2 separate regions of the Homo sapiens genome follow, and region 2 is linked to region 1. The links are contacts of gene promoters, found by promoter capture Hi-C in blood cells and fetal thymus (Javierre and others, 2016). All regions are on one chromosome and are shown on one strand. Each heading gives the region's core, a stretch centred on a gene start or on the middle of the fragment in contact. The rest is flanking DNA. Distances are from core to core; before and after follow the strand shown. Region 1 holds the start of ESCO1 (establishment of sister chromatid cohesion N-acetyltransferase 1). Region 2 holds the start of RMP24 (ribonuclease MRP subunit p24).

Evidence for each region. Contacts are between HindIII fragments. The CHiCAGO score rates a contact against its expected background, and 5 or more counts as called.
Region 2: the fragment with the promoter of RMP24 here is called in contact with the fragment with the promoter of ESCO1 in region 1 in 1 of 17 cell types (total CD4 T cells); the score reaches 5.7 in total CD4 T cells.

Annotation. Positions count from the first base shown.
Region 1 is chr18:21,598,847-21,602,439 of GRCh38, reverse strand. ESCO1 (establishment of sister chromatid cohesion N-acetyltransferase 1) reads left to right here and starts at 1,736. Exons shown (of 12, transcript NM_052911.3): 1 at 1,736-1,817. RefSeq lists enhancers at 107-186, 1,511-2,030, 3,098-3,392. The HindIII fragment of the contact is 1,991 bases long and covers 761-2,751 here.
Region 2 is chr18:35,970,844-35,974,436 of GRCh38, reverse strand. RMP24 (ribonuclease MRP subunit p24) reads right to left here and starts at 1,758. Exons shown (of 5, transcript NM_031446.5): 1 at 1,632-1,758; 2 at 1,530-1,552. The coding sequence starts at 1,708. LOC105372066 (a long non-coding RNA gene) reads left to right here and starts at 1,986. Exons shown (of 4, transcript NR_188032.1): 1 at 1,986-2,039. RefSeq lists an enhancer at 1,076-1,968 and silencers at 1,888-2,037, 1,977-2,271. The HindIII fragment of the contact is 7,007 bases long and covers 1,221-3,593 here.

The DNA.
Region 1 (3,593 bases), core at 487-2,986:
GAAGTACCGAACTAGCCTCACAGTTCCGCAAATAAGCAAAGGGTAGCACAGAACATATGTTCAAAAGCAGTCTAGTAGCCGGAGCAGTGGCTTAGGCCTGTAGTCCCAGCGCTTTGGGAAGCCAAGGAGAGAAGAGAGGATCACTTGAGGCCAGGAGTTCGAGATCAGCCTGGGCTGGTCTCAGTGAGACCTTATCCCTACAAAATATAAAAAAATTAGCCTGGCGGCCGGGCGCGGTGGCTTACGCCTGTAATCCCAGCACTTTGGGAGGCCGAGGCAGGTGGGATCACAAGGTCAGAAGTTCGAGACCAGCCTGGCCAAGATGGTGAAACCCCGTCTCTACTAAAAATAAAAAATTAGCCGGGCATGGTGGCAGGCACCTGTAGTCCCAGCTACTCAGGAGGCTGAGGCAGGAGAATTCCTTGAACCTGGGAGGCGGAGGTTGCAGTGAGCCGAGATCGTGCCATTGCACTCTAGCCTGGGTGACAAGAGTGAGACTCCATCTCAAAAAAAAAAAAAAAAATTAGCCTGGCATGGTGTCGTGGGCTTCATACATGCAGTTCTCAGGGAGGCTGAGGCAGGTGGGATCGCTTGAGCCCAAGTCGAGGCTGCAGTGAGCCGTTACTGTGCCACTGCACACCAGCCAGGGCTACACAGCAAGATCCTTCCTGTCACAAAAGAAAGAAGTGTGGGAACCATGAATCCTAGTGATAGAATCTTGGATTCTATCTCTAGAGGCGTCCAAGAGCGAGCCAAAGCTTTGTCTGAACACTCAGTCTGACTAAGTCTAGCAGAATATTTTACAATTTCTGATGATTCTTGCACTCTGATACACAGGAAGAAAGTGTGCAAGGAGAGGGCGAAGCCCTGCATTTTTTGGAGGTGCTGGAGGGCAGTGTAGGGACTGCACCCTCCTTTTTTTTTTATTTGAGACAGGGTCTCACTCGTCCAGACTAGAGTGCAGTGGCCCAGTCTCAGCTCACCACAACCTCCGCCTCCCAGGCTCAAGGGATTCTCCCGCCTCAGCCTCTCGAGTAGCTGGGATTACAGTCGCACGCCACTACCACCCGGCTAATTTTTGTATTTCTAGTAGAGACGGGGTTTCACCATGTTGGCCATGTTGGCCAGGCTGGTCTCGAACTCCTAACCTCAAATGATCCACCCGCCTCTGCTTCCCAAAGTGCTGGGATTACAGGCGTGAACCACCGCGCCCGGCCCCACCCTCCTTCTTTACATTGGCTCATATGGAAGACCAAAGGCACTTGGATTATACATCGCAGACAGAAGCAGCCAAAACCTACATGGCAACCAGTTGCGACAAATTTCCAAGGTAAACCACAACCGCTGGGGGCCTGGGTGGTTTTCAGCTCAAAGCGATGACCCCAGGAACGACAAGCGGCCGCCGCTAGGGGGCGCCGCCACTTCCCTGCCAGGCGACCACCCGCGGAGGCGCGCGCGCTAGGCCTCCCACCGCGCCTGCGCTGAGGATGGACACTAGCTCGCCTTTCCTCGACGCCCAGCCGTCCGGGCCGGGGTGAAAAACTGCGTGACACGCAGTGAGCGTGGCGGCCATCTTCGTCTTCTGGGCACGTCAGCTGAGCCGGTTAGGGCTGAAGAGGAGCGTTGCGCAAGCGCACCCAAGACGGTCACAGGTAACTCCCATCTGACGAGCGAGGCGTCGCCGTCGTCGCCGGAAGTTTGGTGTTTGCGCCGCGGGGGAGGCGGCGGCCGCAGCAGAAGCAGCTGAGTGTCTCCTGATACCCGGATGTGAGGCGATCCGCTGGCGCTAGTCTGACCCTCCGCCAGGCAAAAGGAAGGTACGCGAGCGTCCCTGACGGTCCCCGCCGCCTGTGTCTTCACCTCTCTTTTGCCAGCCCCTTCAGGGAGCGGACAGTTCTCCCTCTTCCTGTTCCACCCTCGGTGGCGTGTTGCCTCGCACGCCCCTTCCTACTGCTCCGGTCCCAGCTCTTCGCGCCCCTGGGAGGGAGGTGGGAGGCTCTAGGCTCCAAGACGCCGTCGCTTGAGGTAGGCAGCTAACGTGCTCGCGTGTCCGCGCACCACCTGCCGCTGTTTGCTGGGCGGTCGAAGTTCATAAGGGGTCGTGACCGCCGACGGGGCAGGGCCGGAGTTCCCAGCACTGCCGCGAGGGCTCCGGGAGCCCCGAGGTGGCGCGCAGCCATTGCTAGCACCGGGGCAGCGCCAGTGCTGGTCCCGCAGGTAGCTCCGGGCCCCGTCTCCGCCCCCTGCGTTTTCTCTTCCCGGCGCTTCACCGGAGCCAGTCCCTCGCCGCCTCCTGGCGCAACCCGCTGACCCGGCCTGAGCCTGGAGGCCTCTGCAGTTTGCGGGGCGCGATGTGGGGTCTTGGTTTTACAGCCTTCAGTTTGGGAGGGGAGCGGGCCCAAGGTCATAGAGTAACTCATGCTGCAAATGGGGGTCTCGGCACAGGTAGGGCGGCTCTGGAGTAGAAATGAGTGCATTGAGGGCCGCAGTGAAGTTTATAGCGATGGAGAGAGGCGAACCAAAGAGAATTGGGTCCTCGATTTTTATCACGGGTTAAGATTATTTTACTATGGGGGTTTATTTTGCACAGGCAGAATGGGATAGCAAGTCCAACAATTCGAAGACTACCTCCTCTCCCTCCGCCTCTCAATGATGCGTCCGAAAATCCGGCGTGTGCTTTATTTTCCGGGGCGATGGGGACGCAGCGGGGACCAGGGGAGGGAGGAAGAGGAGGAGGAAGGAGCTCAAGCTTTGCGATTTGAGAAGTACTATGAACCATGTTTTCTGTAGTCTTAGCTGCAATGAGATTCCTTTAAACAGGAATCGCAGCACACAGTATCTAGATAGTATTACAAAACGATATCTCAATAAATAAGCTTCGCAGGAAACAAAAGCGCTACTTGGTGGCATAAGGTGTGGTTAGTCCCCCCACCAGCATTGGCTTTTTTAAAAAAGTGGATAAAACATAGATTTCAGTTGAAAACATCCAGGTTGCAGTGAACTATGCTATATTCACTTTGTCTTCTGGTCAAGTACTTAGTTTCTGCTTTACACAGGACACCAACACGAATAAAGTTTTAAGTTATTATTTTATTTTGAGACGGGGTCTCGCTCTGTCGCCCAGACTGGATTGCAGTGGTGTAATCACTGTTCACTGCAGCCTTGACCTCCCTCCCCGGCCCCAAGCAATCCTCCCACCTCCGCCTCCCTGAGTGGCTGAGACTACAGGCGTCCGCTACCATGTTAGGCTAAGTTTTCTATTTGTTGTTGAGACGGCGTTTCGCCATGTTGCCCAGGCTGGTCTCGAACTCCTGGGATCAAGTGATCACCTGGGCCTCCAAAAGTGCTGGGATTACAGGCCTGAGCCACTGTGCCTGGTGAATTTTTTTTTTTTTTTGAAAAGCAAAAAATCTAATCAATGGAATTAGACATGGGAGTAGGATGAGAAGTGCTTTAAAACGTGCTTAATTTGGAAGTCGCAAATTCAGGCCTAGAGCATGTGAGGAAATGAGGAAACTAGGACTGTAATAGAGCCACTTTTTCCCTTTTAGGCAGAATGCAGAGTATCACTGTTGGGTCAGATATGTGACTTT
Region 2 (3,593 bases), core at 509-3,008, about 14 Mb before region 1:
AGCTAAAGACCACACTTAAACTTAGCTCTGCCAAATGTGAAACTCATTCATATTCACTAAGTGACAATTAAGAATGCCAGGCACTGTTCTAAGTGCTGGAGACACAGCAGTGAACAAAGGACAATTCACCGAGGCATACAATAAATATAACAACGTCAAATGTTAAGTGCTGGGAATAAAAAAGTAAGATAGGAGGGGGGAATAGAAGTATTGATGGAGTTACTGTAATTTTAAATAGGTGGCTAGGGAAAGCTTCATTGAGTGATATTATAGAGACCAGAGGGAAATGGAGGATTCACATGAAAGCAGATATGTGAGGCAAGAATCCCAGGCAGAGTGAAGAGTACCTGCAAAGGCCCTGAAACAGAAAAGCAAGGAGACCTAGTGTGACTGGAGTTGCGTGAAGGAAAGAGTACGTCAGAGAGGTATGCAGGTCTATGACACAGGGCCTTACAATCCTTTTAAAGGACTTTCACTTTTATTAATCCAGGAGAGAGCTGGTGATGGCCTGGAGCAGGGTAGTAGCAATGGATGTGGTGAGGAGTGGAGTGCAATGGCGCCATCTCCGCTCACTGCAACCTCCACCTCCCGGGTTCAAGAGATTCTCATGCCTCACCCTCTCGAGTAGCTGGGATTACAGGCGTGCACCACCATGCCAGGTAATTTTTTTGTATTTTTAGTAGAGACAGCGTTTCGCCATGTTGGCCAGGTTGGTCTCGAACTCCTGGCCTCAAATGATCCGCCCGCCTCTGCATCTCAAAGTGCTGGGATTACAGGGGTGAGCCACCGCTCCTGGCTGATTTTGGCTACATTTTAAAGCCAACAGGATTTGCTCGCATACTGGCCTGGGGGAGGAGAGAGAGTTAGGGAGTCAAGAATAGCTCCAAGGTTTTTGGGCTCAATAACTGTAAGGGAAGAATGGAATTATTTACTGAAATGAGAAAAACTGGAGGATCTTGTTGGGGGTTAAAGCTCAGGTTTTGGACATATTAGCTAAGTTTGAATTACTAGACATTGAAAAGAATTTGTCAAGAAGACATTCGGATATATGAGTCTAGAATTCAGAGGAGAGGTCTGCGCTGAGTATATACATTTGTAAGTCCTCAGTATATGGTATTTAAAAGCCATGAGATTGGATGAAAAACTGTCACCAAGGAAGCGAGTGTGCCTAGAAAAGAGGTCCAAGGGCTGAGTACTGGGCCACGACAATACTTAAAGCTTGGGGAGATTAGGAGGAACCAGCAAAGCAAATCGAGAAGTAATAAATGAAGAGGTGAACTACGTAATGACCTAGAAGCCAAGGGAGGAAACTATTTCAAGACTGATCAATGTGTCAAATGCCGCTAACAAAGCAAGACAAGGCACATTAAAGAATTTGGATTTTTCACGAAACCGAGACACATGCGGGCTTTGTTGTTGTTGTTTTTATGGAGGGAAGTGAGTCCATCGGCCTTATTTGAGCGTTGTGCGGAACAGAGGAAAGCGGGGCGACAAGAGCCCAAAGCACAAGAGACAGGCGTTCTTCTTACCGTGCGACGAAGTGTAGGCCCAGCTGTAAAAGAGAAAGAGACTTGTGAGGAGCAAAGGAACACCTACCCGCTCGCCTCCCGCTTCCCCTCCAGTCCTCTTACAGGAGGTAGCGGGCTTGGCCCGGGCAGCTGTCGTGCAGTCCCCGCGCTGCAGCCTCAAGGTAGTGCTTCTGTCTCATCGCCGCCGCCGCTGCCGCTGGCTCGCCGCGGGAACCAGGTGAGAAAATAGGGCGCCGGAAGTCGGCTTCCCAGCGTCCCCGTCGTTGGTGTCCGGACTCAAGCTGCTTCCGGAAACAGGCACCGTAGGCAGACAGGTTCCGGTTTCCTTCGCGTCCAGTCTGGCTTGGAGGCGTGCCCAGCCGGGAGGCGGCCCCACCCGCCCGCCGCGTCCCCGCCCCCTCAGTTCCACCCCTTGGCCTGCCGGGTCCTCTCAGGCACCCAGCGGAGTTTCGAGTCAGACTTGAGCTCGGGCGTAGCGGCTAGACCGGGCTGTGGCGATAGAGTCCAAAGGTGAGGCTCCCACCCGCCTCTCCATCTTCCTCCCGCCTCGCCTCCTCTCTGACAGCCCTTTTGTGATTGCCCTGCCGCAGCTTCGCCCTCCACATTCGCCGGGCGCGGTACTGACTGGTGCGCCGGCGGGCGGAAGCGCTGCCAGCAACGAGGCGGCCGGGAGGAGCGTCCCCAGTCCAGCCTGCCCTCCGCCTGCGTAAACGCTAGCGTTTCTCTTTTTGTAATTAAAGTGAAATTCACATAACGTAATATTGACCATTTTAAGGTGAACAATTCAGTGGCGTTTAGTAAATTTACAATGTTGTGCAAGCACCATTCTGCTATTTCCAAAATATTTCGCCGAAGGACAGCCAACTCCATGAAGCACTTACGGCCAATCCTCCTCTCCCTCCCAGGCCTTGGCAACCACCAGTCCGCTTTCTGTCTCTATGGATTTACCTATTCTGGGCATTTCATGTAAATGGAATCATACACACGACCTTTTGTGTCTGGCTTCCTTCACCTAGCATAATGTATCAGGTTCATCCACCTTGCAGCACGTATCAGTACTTCATTCGTTGTTATGGCTGAATAATATTCCATTGTATGGCGGTATCACAATGGTTTATCCATTCATCAGTTGAACGTTTGAATTGTTTCTACTTTTTGGCTGTTATGAATGAATGCCGCTGTGAACATGTGTGTACATGCATTTGTTTGAGTGCCTTTTTTCTGTTCTTCGGGGTATAATACCTAAGAGTAGATCTGCTGGGTTATGTAGTAATTCTGTGCTTAATGAGGGTTCCAGTTTCTCCGTATCCTCACCAACATTTGCTTTTCTTTTTCTTTTTTTTTTAAATCTAGCCTTCCTAGTGAGTATGATGTAGCATCTCATTGTGGTTTTGATTAACATTTCCCTGACTACTGATGCTTTTGAGCAGCTTTTCATGTGCTTGTTGGCAATTTATGTATCTTTGGCTGTTTAAGTTCTTTGCTCATTTTTTATTGGAGTTGTCTTTTTGTTGATAAGTTGTAAGGTTCTTTTAATGTGTATGTTCTGGATAGTGGACCCTTATTTAGCCTGCTTTATTTATTTATCTGAGATGGGATCTCACTCTGTTGCTCAGGCTGGAGTGCAGTCGTGTGATCACAGTTCACTGCATTCTTGAATTCCTGGGCTGGGTTAAAGGGTTCTCTTGCCTCAGCCTCCCTAGTAGCTGGGAACCAGGCACACTACCATGCGTAGGTATTGTTGTTGTTGTTGTTGTTGTTGTTATTATTATTATTATTTTGGTAGAGATGGGCGTCTCACTATATTGCCCAGGCTGGTCTTGAACTCCTGGGCTCAAGTGATCCTCCCACCTCAGCCTCCCATAGTGTTAGGATCACAGGTATGAGACACTATGCCCAGCCCATTTTTAATTTTAAAAGGGAGCTAAATTGGCTAGGCGCAGTGGCTCACGCCTGTAATTCCAGCACTTGGGGAGGGCAAAGCGGGTGGATTGCCTGATCTCAGGAGTCGGCGACCAGCCTGGGCAACACGGTGAAACCCTGTCTCTACTAAAATACAAAAAT